2 separate regions of the Homo sapiens genome follow, and region 2 is linked to region 1. The links are contacts of gene promoters, found by promoter capture Hi-C in human tissues and cell types (Jung and others, 2019). All regions are on one chromosome and are shown on one strand. The core of a region is centred on a gene start or on the middle of the fragment in contact, and the rest is flanking DNA. Distances in the headings are between cores, read along the strand shown.

Evidence for each region. The method cuts DNA at HindIII sites, captures the fragments that hold promoters and counts their contacts. A contact is called where the count stands out against the background at its distance.
Region 2: a contact is called between a fragment that was not itself captured here and the fragment with the promoter of MYH8 in region 1, in 2 of the 25 tissues and cell types used here (mesenchymal stem cells and mesendoderm cells).

Annotation. Positions count from the first base shown.
Region 1 is chr17:10,419,584-10,426,226 of GRCh38, reverse strand. MYH8 (myosin heavy chain 8) reads left to right here and starts at 4,277. Exons shown (of 40, transcript NM_002472.3): 1 at 4,277-4,297; 2 at 4,521-4,564; 3 at 5,970-6,209. The coding sequence starts at 6,000. The region is part of intron 2 of MYHAS (myosin heavy chain gene cluster antisense RNA); the gene reads right to left. The HindIII fragment of the contact is 11,670 bases long and covers 1-6,643 here.
Region 2 is chr17:10,575,093-10,581,735 of GRCh38, reverse strand. All of the region lies in intron 3 of MYHAS (myosin heavy chain gene cluster antisense RNA), which reads right to left. Among named protein-coding and RNA genes, the nearest start is that of MYH2, 29 kb to the right of the region's middle. The HindIII fragment of the contact is 5,942 bases long and covers 902-6,643 here.

The DNA of each region.
Region 1 (6,643 bases), core at 3,028-5,527:
AAACAGATTACTAAACTGAGATTTTTTATTATAGAGATATGCACAAAAAAGACCCAAAAATATAAAAACTCACACAAAATAAGTAATTTTATAGGAAAATATAAATCATCCAAATGGGCCAAAAGACAAGTAGAAACTCTACAAAGACTAATCAATAATCATAAAAAAAACTCAATAAGAGTAAAAAAATTATATTCCACAAAGGCTAGAGGTCAAAAGAATTCCATGGAGGAACTCTATCAAACCATCATGGAACAGATAATTCACATCTCAAACGCAATGTTATAGAAAACACAAACAAATGGGAAGCTGCTCAGTTTATTTTACAAGACTAATATGATCCTAATATCAAAACAAGAAAATGATAGCACAAGAAAACTTTGACCTAGTCATATATGAACTCAGATTTTAAAATTCCAATAAAAAATTCGAAAACTGAAAGCAGCAGAGAATTAAACAATATTATATCAATAGCTTTTATTTCATGAATTCTAGGGTGGTAAAGGTGAGAAAAACCTACCATATAATTCACTCCATTGATAGGTCAGGGGAGAAAAACAGTAATCTCAACAGATATAAAAAATTTGGTAAAATTCAACCCATTATTTGTAGACATAATTTACATACCATAAAATTCACAATTTAAAGTGTATAATTCAGTGGTTTTTATTAGATTCACAAAGTTATGCAACCATCACTATTAATTCCAGAATGTTTTCATCACCCCAAAAAGAAACTCCATGTCCATTTTCAGTCACTCCCCAATTCTCTTCTCTCCACATCCTCTGGCAATCACTAATGTATTTTCTTTCTCTATGGATTTGCCTATTCTGGGCATTTTAGATCTACAGAATCATCAAATATGGGCCCTTTGTGTCAGGCTTCTTTCACTTAACATAATATTTTTAGGTTCACCCATATAGTAGCATCTAACTTCACTCCTTTTTATGGCTGAATAATATTTCATTGCATTAATAGAGTCCATTATAGGATAAACAGGATTTTGCTTATCTACCTGTTGCCCGATGGACATCTGATTGTTCCCACTTTTTGGCTATTATAGATAATGTTGCTATAAACTTTATGTACAAGTTTTTATATAAACATGTTTTCAATTCTCTCGGGCATATACCTAGAAATAGAACTATTTAACTCATTTTTATGATCAAAATGATTAGCAAACTAGATACAAAGTATACAGTAAATATTATGTTTGGTGAAACATCAGATGCAATCCAATAAAAGTCAAGAACAAGATAAGGATGCCCTTATCTTGCACAGGATATGTACACAAGTATCTCTGTATTAATACTATATTAATACTATTCAACACTGTCCTAAATGTCATAGACAATGTAATAAGAGAAGGGAAAAAAATAACATATAAATGACAAGAGAAAGAAGACACAAATTGTGATTATTTGCGCATGACACATTGAAAATCCAAGAGCATCAAATAAATTATTAGAGGTGGTAAGAGAGTTCGGCAAGAGGGCCAGATAACGGTTAACACAGAAAAGTCAGTAACTTTCTGAAACGCCGTGTATGTTAGGGATTGTGTTTGAATGTAACAAAAAAAACCTGAGTAAACAATGCCTCAAAAAATTAGTGCTTTACTTTTTTCTTCACACAATGAAATTCAGCTCACAGGTGTCAAGGCTAAGGTCTCCAAAAATCTCTTGACCTTTCTTTTAAGGCTATAGTTCTAGCCATTACATCTGTGTTCTACGTAGGAGAAAGATAGAGATAGGAAAGAAAAAGGTAGTATGAGCAAAGTCTACCCTCTTTTAGAAAAGAGCTTTTCTGGAAGCTCCACCCAGCAACTTCTGCTTGCATTTCATTAGCCAAAACAGTGTCATATGGTTACCCTATGCTGAGAGTCTGAATATAATAATATATAGTTTGGCATACTACTGCCACAAACAAAAGTGAAGCTCTGATTATGCAAACTTGTCTGCCACGTGCCAGTAGTAACCAAGTAGAAAGTGTAATAGAAAAAATAATCCTATTCAACATATCAACAGAAAACTCTAAAATTTGTAGGAATACACCGAACAAGGAATATAAGATCATTATGGAAAAAACTTTTAAAAATGACTAAAAAGTATTTTTGAAAAGGACTTGGAATAAACAGGAAAATATATCATCCTTATAAACTGAAAGACTCACTTTTATAAAGCTATCAACTCTTATCAAATTAATCTATTAAATCAATTTAATCAAAATCAAAATCCCAATAGAATTTTCCATAACCTGAAGAACATGATTCTAAAACTCATATAGTAGAAGGTAAAAATTAACAGGACAACTTTGAATAATTAGGGAAAATTGGCCCTACTGGTCATCAAAACCTATGCTATTGGCATAGAAATACGGTACAAAATATGGAATCCAGAAACAGATTACATGCACACGAACACACACACAGCTGGATTACAAATCTCACTATTTTTTAAGCATCAGATTGAAAATACAGGATTACACATCTCACTATTTCATAAGCATTAGCTTGAAAATACAGAAGAATATATGTATGACTCTGAGTTCTTGAGTTAGAGAAAGTTTTTCTTATACAATACACACAAAAAACCAAAAATATAAAAGAAAATTTTTTATAACTCTGACTACCTAAAGATGTAAAACTTCTAGAAGATTGAGATCGCATAGTAAAGATCATTATTAAATCAGGAGAAACTTTTTAGAACTTGTATAAACAAAATTATTACAATCTTAAACCTACGGAATTTTACACAGAAATTTAAAAATGAGTAATATCAAAATAATCCAGTGATAGAGGGAATGGTGAGAATATATAAGAAACAAGACTGACCATGAACTGATAATTATCAGTGCTGGATGATGAATATACTAGGTTCATTATGCTATCCCCTCTACTTTTGCATATGTTTGAAATGTTTTCATATTATTATTTATGTACTAACATGGCAAATGATCCAAGAGTGTAGAATGAAAAAAGAAAGTTTGTAAATAAATAATCATACTATCTATATTTTAAACATCTATATTATATATTATAAATTTTCTATGGCCCAATTTCCTTAGACCAGTTTTACTAATTTATATTTTCCCAGAAAATACATATGTAAATGTACAGAAAAGGTCTGCAATATTACAAACTAAACGGGTATCCGTAGTTACCTTGGGAGAAAAGGGAGATACCAGCATTGTGAGTGTTCATCAAAGGGAAAATTTAGCCTAATCTCTAAGGCTTTAATTTTTATGTAATTACAGTGTAAGAGGTTACACACCTGCATATATTTATCAAACCCATAGGCCTGGAATTGTTCTGCATCCTATCTGTGGTGGTGGCTACATGAATCAATACGTGTATAAAAACTCATACAATCATACAACAAAAGAAGTAAATTTTATTATAAAGTTTAAAAATTTTTAAAAATAAAAGCAAAAAACCTCATAAAACTGTCACTTTAAAAGGGTGAATTTGACTCTATGTAAATTATACCTCAATATATCTGACCTTAAAAAAAGGAAAGAGTTTAATTAAAAAAAATCATAATTTATTTAAAGAATAGGGTATAAATTACATTAGTGATATGATATATTAATTATTAAAGCATATTACAAGGCACACATGTACTATATATGCATCTATAATATGATCCCACTTATACGCCTCTATCTTATTTCTGCATTAGAGATTACAGAGACTTTTTTTACTTACCTGTATTTTTTTCTGTAATAAACATATTATTTTCTACTAATAATGTTTTTCAAAGTTAGATGAGTGGGCACTGGCCCAATGGTGGAGACTCAAGGTAGAATCTCTGCTGTCTAAGCCTGGACTTCAAGAGTGAGCATCTGTAGTGGCCCAAGGGAATGCAGTGGGGGGTTCCCGTGGTAGCAAATAAGGAAACGTGCTTAAGGCCCTGACAGCCGTGTGCCCCGGGTATCTGATCATTTGGCTACCACAGGCGTGCATGAAAGAGTTTGCCAAATTGAATATAGCTCTTAAGAACTTACTCTGAGGCCCCATCAGGCACTGTCAAAGATTCCCTTCCCAGCACACTAGAAAGCATTCTCTGCTGGCAGATCGGTCTCTGTCAAATTATTTATAGGAGATTGGTTTGCATACACAAAATGATATGAATACTTCTAATTATATCCAAACATGACAAATGTCACTACAAACTATGCTGAGGGTTCATGTTGCCAAATGTCTTGCCCTAACAAAGAGGAGGTAGTTGCAGCATCAGCACATTAGTTCCTATATAAGCAGGACTGCCCCTTGTGCCTTATTTCCACCAAGAACCCAGAGGTAAGTGATGAAGGCCTTGGAACTCGAAAAACCCCAGGTGGGGAAAAGAGCTGACCTCGTAGTTATCTGTGAGCATTAAACTGCTCTCTCAATCTTAACTTTTGTCTTCATAGAACCAAGCTTTGGGGTAGGGAAACTTCAATTCTGTAACTATAATAACAATTCTGTAACTATAATATTGGAATTTCGGAGCATCACTAATAAGAAGCTTGTTGTTTTACAGAGTGGAACACTTCTGAACCTGCATTTTTATCTGGAACTCCAGAGGTAAGACTTGGCTTTATTAATTTATTGATGACAGAGGGGATATAGTCTAATGAAGCTGTGAACAATCCTGAATTATACACCATTTCCATGTTTTTGCAGTTATATCAGGAAAGAGTGTTTCCGAGTGAGTGTTTATAAATGCTAGAAAATAACTTTTTCAAAATGTCTTCTTCTCAGAGACTATCCTCATTTGGGTTCCAAGATTCAAAGACCGTTTAGGACAGAATTAGCTTCAACAGTGAGTTCTCAGCTGTGCTTAGAACTGTCCAGTGGCAATAGACTAGTCCATGCCAGTCTTCTTCTATGGCAAAGCATTGAGGACTTAGGACATTTTATAGACATTTTTAAAGACTCCAGAAAGATTTTTACCTAGAAATATAAATATAAATATTTTAGCTACCTTTGATTATTTGTTATTTGTTGTTAGAAAGACTTATTATTATTTACTTAACAGGTCGCAAGTATTACATCCACCGGGTGTTAAATACCATGACTAATTTAAGAGGAATCCTGCCCTTCCCTAAGTAACTTTCTAATTGAAAATAAAGGAAAAACTCAACCAATCTAACATGTCCACATTGCAGAGGCCTATCTATTAATCAGAAGACAATGGCTTACATGCATGTGATGTACTCTTAAAACTTTTTTCTCTGTTTTCTGGGTGGAAAGAAAAGAAACCCATGGAATTTATGTGGGAAGAAGGGCCTTTGTGCTGAAGCTCTCATTCCTCTGTGGTTAGATCTGTTAACTGACAGCTGAAATCTCTCATGTCAAAAAAGATTTTGGAATCAAGGCAATGCTAAGTCTGTTGGGAACAACCCAAATTACAAAAAATCCAGAGTATTAGAATGTATTATGTTCTTCTAACAATCCACTGAGAGATACAACACCAAATATCAACATAAAGATGTTAAAAATAATTATTTGCTTTATGAGAGAAAATGGCCATCTTAAAAGGCAAAGATTTTTTGATAGCTTTGAAAATATGAACCTTCATTTGAACAAGACAAACTTTCTTTTCTCACCATATGATTGTCCTGGCATATGGCATAGACAAACATTATGCAGAAAGAGGAGAGGAAATTAAATAATGACAGTTGCTATAAAACAATCCATCAATAGTTTTAGCTGTAGAGGTTTCATTCTAATTCAATTGTAGGTACCCTATCCCTGAGGATCAAGATATGTGATCTGAAAAGGAAATTCACAGTCCTAAAAATGAAATCTCAAATTACAGTCTCACTCCATACTTGTCCTTTAGACTATGTTAGAACACTGGGGAGTGCCAGTTTGGAGGAATAGTTACAGCACAGGCTATGTTCAACATTTCTTTCATTTCAAATCCTAACTCACATTTGTGACTTCTGCTTTTTATATCTCTCTCTCCCGTTTCTCTCCTCCCTAGGCAGAATCCTTTGCTAAATAAATCGCAGCCATGAGTGCGAGCTCAGACGCTGAGATGGCTGTTTTTGGCGAAGCTGCTCCCTACCTTCGAAAATCAGAAAAGGAGCGGATTGAGGCCCAAAACAAGCCGTTTGATGCTAAAACATCTGTCTTTGTGGCGGAGCCCAAGGAATCCTATGTGAAGAGCACTATACAAAGCAAAGAAGGAGGGAAAGTAACCGTAAAGACTGAAGGTGGAGCAGTAAGTGAAAACAGGGAGAAAATACTCCCCATTTTATTTCTTGGTTCAAAAGTTGAAGCCTAACTTACTGGGAATCTCCAAGCCTGTTGCCAATGCAAACACCCTTCTAGTCAGTGTTGAGACATTAGATGTGGAAGGCAAAAGAAATTCACAGCAGTACCTTCATGTCTTCCCTTCCCAACTTCGCACAGGACCTCACCCCACTATGTATGGCCTTCACCATTTCCCTTCAATTCCCCACTTCCTAGTCTGAATGTCCAAACTTGAGGGAAATGAAAACAAGCTCCTCCTATCAGAAGTTAAATATTTACTTAGTTAAATAATGTATTAATATCCCCATTACTTCCAAAAACATGAAGTTTCTTAATGAATGAAAGAAAAAAATAAAAATTTAGCCTACTAAAATAAGAAAAAAAGGATATAAACTGATAAAT
Region 2 (6,643 bases), core at 2,623-5,122, 160 kb before region 1:
GGGCATGGTGGCGCACACCTGTAATCCCAGCTACTCGGGAGGCTGAGACATGAGAATCGCTTGAACCTGGGAGGCAGAGATTGCAGTGAGCTGAGATTGTGCCACTGCACTCCAGCCTGGGTTACAGAGTGAGACTCTGTCTCAAAAATAAAGAAAAAATAATTTAAGAGGGCAGATTTCATGTTAAATGCTCTTACCACAATTTTTTTTAAAGTTGACATTCACCAGACTTTTTTGGCTACTGGTGATATTCAACCAAACAAACGTCAAAGTTGGCTACACTTCTGATAAATATGTGTGATCTGAATCGATGGTGTGCAGTTATGACTGAATGAACACACACATAAACACACGGCCTGGTCCCGGGAGCCAATGTATGGTTGGAGGAAAGGGAACAGGAAAGTGTTGAATCGCCTGGGAGCAGGCAAGCCAATGGCAGCCACTCTCCCAGTTCTCAGTCCCAGCAGAGGCCAAGCACAGGCAAGGGAGTCAGGGATATTGGAGGAGGGTCCCCTCCACCTCAGCCTGGCCATCTGGCCCCTGGTTTGATGAACAACTTCAGCAAAAGCAGCTCCCATGACCTCTCAGCTTCCTATCTTTTTTCTACAACTTTCCCTCCCCAGCCTTTTCCTTCCTATTCCAGTCCTCAACTGCTTCTTCTATCCTACCTCAGAAAAACAAGTAACTATAAAAACTATAAAACAAGTAACTATAAAATAGCTACCCACTGATGTTTTAAAACACTATTTCCAAATTCACATGCCCTACTCCCATCTCAAGATCCATTTACATAAATATACATATGTTTATTGGATTGAATTATATATATATATTTATGTAGATTGATAGATGTCAGATCTGCACTGATATTCTAATAAAACAGAAACAAGTTAGAATAACAAAAACAAATATATAAATGTTCTATAAAAATATAGGGCCAGTTGGTCGGGTGCGGTGGCTCACGCCTGTAATCCCAGCACTTTGGGAGGCCGAGGTGGGTGGATTACCTGAGGTCAGGAGTTTGAGACCAGCCTGGCCAACACGGTGAGACCCCGTCTCTACTAAAAATACAATAAATTAGCCGGGCATGGTGGCACATGCCTGTAGTCCCAGCTACTCGGGAGGCTGAGGCAGGGGAATTGCTTGAGCCCAGGAGGCAGAGGTTGCAGTGAGCCGAGATTGCACCACTGCACTCCAGCCTGGCTGACAGAGCAAGACTCTGTCTCAAAAAAAAAAAAAAAAAAAAAATAGGGGCCACTGACTAAATACTACTGACATTATTATTTGTATAAAATGAAGTAAGAAGAACAGTTTCTTCTATAATAATCTTTACAAAGTAAAACACCTTAAAAAGCTATTAGCAAATAACCATCACTTGCAAAGTATGTATTTAGTATCCTGAATTAAATAGTAAGGTACAGTCTCCACTTCTTTTTTTGTTTTGTTTGTTTGTTGTTTTTTGCTATTTAATATTTTGCTTCTTTGCTCACTCATTGCTGCTTAATAAAGATCCATATCCTCTACATCTCATCAATTCACCCTTCCATTTGACAGATTCTGCTGATGTACCAAAAGGAGAAAATTATTGTTATGGGCAATTCAGATTTTTGCTTAAAGATGTGTTTTTTGGGAGCAAAGTATTTCTGAAATCAGTCTTCCAGCAGTGAAATACTGACATAACCAAGTTAACAGTTGACTCTAAAATTGCCATGATATTATTTCAAAGGCAGACTACATGCTTTTGGTAGCCTTATCCCTAAACTGGATTAAGCATAAACATGGTCAGAATAACATGTAGAAGAAAGCTACTGGAGTGGCAGCGATGTGCTGGTTTTCAACGTGGATGCTAATTAGCTCGTTGTTTTCAGTTGGTGAAAATTCATCAAATTGTCATCTTATGATGTTTAGTTGTTTGCATTTTATATCATACTCAATAAAGAGTTTTTCTTCTAAAAAATGCTATCTTCATATAAAGATAGCAGAGAAGTGGCAATCACTGTGGATATGTTTTACTAACAGTTTATCTGGTTAAAATTCTGTAATGGTTGCTGCTTGAAACCAAAAAAGGGTCAGTTCAGGGACCCAATCTTATAACCTCAAAGTGCATTTTTATATGCCTGTGCATAGTGAACAATAAAATCCTTTTAGCAATAATTAAACAGATAGGTTTAGCTCTCAAGTAGCTTGAGGCTATAGCTGTGGCTTGACCTCACAGAAAAAACTGCTCTGTAACCACAGCAATCCCCAAGAGACACTGCCTTGAGTAACCAGGTGTGCCCGTTCATCTATCAGGCAGTTCAAGTTCAGGATACCAGAGCCAGTTGCCACAATCTAGTTACCAAGCCACACACCCACTGTCTCTCTCTGTCTAAATCCTTTCTCTTCCCCTCCTCCTCCAGGACGTCTCTAATGAGTTCTAGACTTCAACTCACCCCATCCCCACTTTTCTGCCCTCAAACACACACATATACTCTCTATCTAAAACAAACATTAAAAGCTTACCTCCTTTCAATGGCTTCTCCCCTTGTCTTTGTCAAATGCTTCCCTCTGCACCAGCCAATCCCTCTTCCCCCTTCTCAATACCCTCAGATTTCTGTTTGGGCATCTATACAGTCCCAAGGAAGGTGACTTTCCTCTTGTTACCTCCAGGGATGGATGGGGCATATGGCCTAAGCTACGGTCTTCAGTTTTGTTTTCCCTGCTCATGTACACCTAAAAGTATAAGTTACAGGGCAGAGCTGAGAGGCCAAAAGGATCTGAGCTCTTGATAGTATCACTGAGCTTCCAGATCAAGCCTTGCCTTATGCTAGTCTTCTCTCTGATCCTTCCAGATACATTAGCTGACACATTTAATGTTTTAGCTTCTTTGAGTTGGAATTCCTGGTGCTTTTAACAAAAACATAGCAATTGAAACATTTTAATACGTTTATTTTCTTTTATTTTTTTAGACTGAGTTTCACTCTTGTTGCCCAGGCTGGAGTGCAATGGTACGATCTCTGCTCACTGAAATCTCTGCCTCCTGGGTTCAAGCGATTCTCCTGCCTCAGCCTCCCGAGTAGCTGGGATTACAGGCATGTGCCACCACACCCAGCTAATTTTGTATTTTTAGTAGAGACGGGGTTTCTCCATGTTGGTCAGGCTGGTCTTGAACTCCTGACCTCAGGTGATCCGCCCACCTCGGCCTCCCAAAGTCCTGGGATTACAGGAGTGAGCCACCGCGCCCCACCATAAATTTCTCATACAAATAGTCCATGCCACTGGCTCCATTCCCTTATCACTTCCTCTTGACCTATCTAAAATCAGCTTAGCTAAGGGGTAAAGATACGAACCAATTGCCTCTCTATGGGCCCATAGCCTTTTATTTTTTTTCTTTTCTTTTTTTTTTTTTTCTGAGATGGAGTTTCACTCTGTCACCCAGGCTGGAGTGTAGTGGTGCAATTTCAGCTCACTGCAACCTCCGCCTCCCAGGTTCAAGTGATTCTCCTGCCTCAGCCTCCTGAGTAGCTGGGATTACAGGCGCACACCACCACACCAAGCTGATTTTTGTATTTTTAGTAGAGATGGGGTTCCATCATGTTGGTCAGGCTGGTCTCCTGACCTCATGTGATCCGCCTGCCTTGGCCTCCCAAAGTGTTGGGATTACTGGCGTGAGCCACTGAGCCCGGCCGTTTTTGTTTTTTTTTTTGTTTTTTTTTTGAGACAGGGTCCCACTCTGTTGCCCAGGCTGGAGTGCCATAGTCTTTTTTACAGTGGCATTTATATCACTTTGTCATGTGTTGTCTAGGTCCACCATCCCTTATCTACAATTCTGAAATCCAAAATGCTTTGAAAAGACAAAATCTTTTTTTTTTAAGAAAATAAGTTTTCCCTTTCACAACAAAACTTGACTGAAAGTGGTGTAGAGATATTTATCTCTCTTTATCCCACTTAGTGTGAGTATTTATGTGCAGAGATTCTTTCACTGCAGAAATATGAAGTTGTTTGATTCTGAGGTCCTCTCCCAGATCCTGCTGGGGATACTAGGGAGTATAGATCCACAACTCCAAATCCACAACCTTTGGGGCCAGGTGCATTTGGAACTCAGTATTTTAATAACTTTTGGAAAGTTTTACAGTGCACATCACATATATTACCCTGTTGGGAGTATGACATAATATTCAGTAGTTCTTTAGGGAGAAACTGCCTGCAAAGCAGGAAGAACATTCAAAACTTCTGGCAGAACAGTGGGAATCCACTGATAACATTACAGAAACAGATATCTGGTAGTCAAAGAAAATTCCTTCATTGATACAGCATTAGTCTACACTGTCTCTGAAAAAGAAATTGATATCTATGTGATACTGTAATGGTGGATGTATGACATTAGTCAAAATCCATAGAATGACCAACACAGAGTGAACTCTAATGTAAGCTATGGACTGTTAAATGTAGACATATCGTATTGGGTAGTATATTGGATCAGATAACTTCAAAGATACCATCTAGCCTGTCCATGATTCCTCTCTGTAAGCCCCCCACTCCTTTAGAATATCTCAGAGTTGGCTAGGCACGGTGGCTCAAGCCTGTAATCCCAGCACTTTGGGAGGCCTAGGTGGATGGATCACAAGGTCAGGAGATCGAGACCATCCTGGCAAACACAGTGAAACCCCGTCTCTACTAAAAATACAAAAAATTAGCTGGGCGTGGTGGCAGGCGCCTGTAGTCCCAGCTACTCAGGAGGCTGAGGCAGGAGAATGGCGTGAACCTGGGAGGCAGAGCTTGCAGTGAGCCAAGATCACGCCACTACATTCCAGCCTGGACGACACAGTGAGACTCCGTCTCAAAAAAAAAAAAGAAAAAAAAAGAATATCTCAGAGTCATCTCATATCTGTAAGCCCTGCCCACACATTCAATCGAAACTCACACATGCCTCTAATCGCCAGCGTGAACTCTTCTCCCACAGTCTACACTATACTTCCAGATTTGCTTCTCTAACCTACGGCGTTCTTCTCCCTCCTTTTTCCTCAAGACCTTCAGTGACTTCTATTGCTTACTAAGCCAAGGCCAGAGAGTTCCCCTGGGCATTTAAGGTCTTACTGAATTCAACAGGTATTCCTTTACCCATGCAAACTTTTAGATCACTCTTCCTCCACAAGGACCCTCTATTAAGAGAAAATACCTAAGAGAATATTTGTCAAAGGGGCCCTGACCCCTTTTCCTCTCACACCTCTCCACCATTTACCATTGACTGATTTGAAATGTGTCCCTTTAGGTTCTTTTTGTCATTAGCACAGTCACTCAATTCTTATGCATTAATCTTCTCTTAGCTCCTCCGAATTGCTCTACCCTTTCAAAAACTTTTTGGTTCTAATCTAACATTTCTCTCATGATCATCGTACTTAATCTAATTAGTGCTCTCTGAGCTTTTAAACATCATTTTCCAAAGGGGAATCCTTGGTGAATTATACTCCCTCTGAGTATCTGATCTGTATAAGAAACTCTAAATTTGCGTTCCACACATTTAACAGTGCATATTATCAGATTCATCAGTAGGAAAAATTAATTGTCTCATTGTTTTTAATAGAAGATCAGGAAGAGAAGGGATCATTTTCTTGACGTATAAAAGCACCATTCAATCGTGAACAATTTAGCTAAAAGAAAAGAATTAACTTGTATTTGAAATATGTCATTTTCTGTCATTCCTGGAACATAGAGAGGGGACTAGTTCTCTGAGATCAAAACTCAGAATGCCATTTTTCTTGATGTTGGTCTATTTTATCTTTCATCTTTGTTACCTACATGTTTTGTTTGCTTTTTGTCAAAGCACATGCCAATAGACTAATATGAAGCTTCAGGCTACTGCAGTGTCTCATCTAAGCATAAACCTAAGATTTCAAAGAGGAATCAACATCCCTCTAGTCTTTAGTTTTTTTTGTTTGTTTTTGTTTTTTTTGTTTGTTTGTTTGCTTGAGACAAGGTCTTGCTCTATCAACCAGTCTGGAGTGCAGTGGTGTAATCATGGCTCAATGCAGCCTTGAACTGCTAGGCTCAAGCAGTACTCCTGCCTCAGCCTCCCGAGTAGCTAGGACTTCAGACATGAGCCATCATGTCTGACTCTTTTTTTTTTTTTTTTTTTTTTGTAGAAATAGGGTCTTGCTTTGTTGCCCAGGTTGGTCTCAAATTCTTGGCCTCCAGTGATCCTCCTGCCCTGGCTTGCCAAAGCGCTAGGATTACAGGTGTTAGCCACCATGCCCAGTCCCCAGTCTGTGATTCTATTTATTTTGATTGCCAAAAATAAGCCAGAGGAAAATTACTGTGAAATTTCTTTTAAAGGTCAATCCATTTCTTGAATGACTTGCTACAGAAGAAGACTTCAGGATTATTCACATCCAATAGCCTCAAGAGAAAAAGAACTTTTCTATAAAATAGCCTGGTCCTTCAGCAATTATCACCGAAACTTTTCCAAGCAAATAAAACCAATGTATTAAGAATTTTGACAATATTGAAGGAAGATCTGACAATGATATACATTGACACAATTAGACGTAAAGTAATGACTTCTTAGATGGGATGGTTAATTTTATGGGTCAACTTGGCCAGGCCCCAGTACCCAGTTTTGGGTCAAGCACCAGTCTAGACATTGTTGTGAAGGGATTTTTATTTT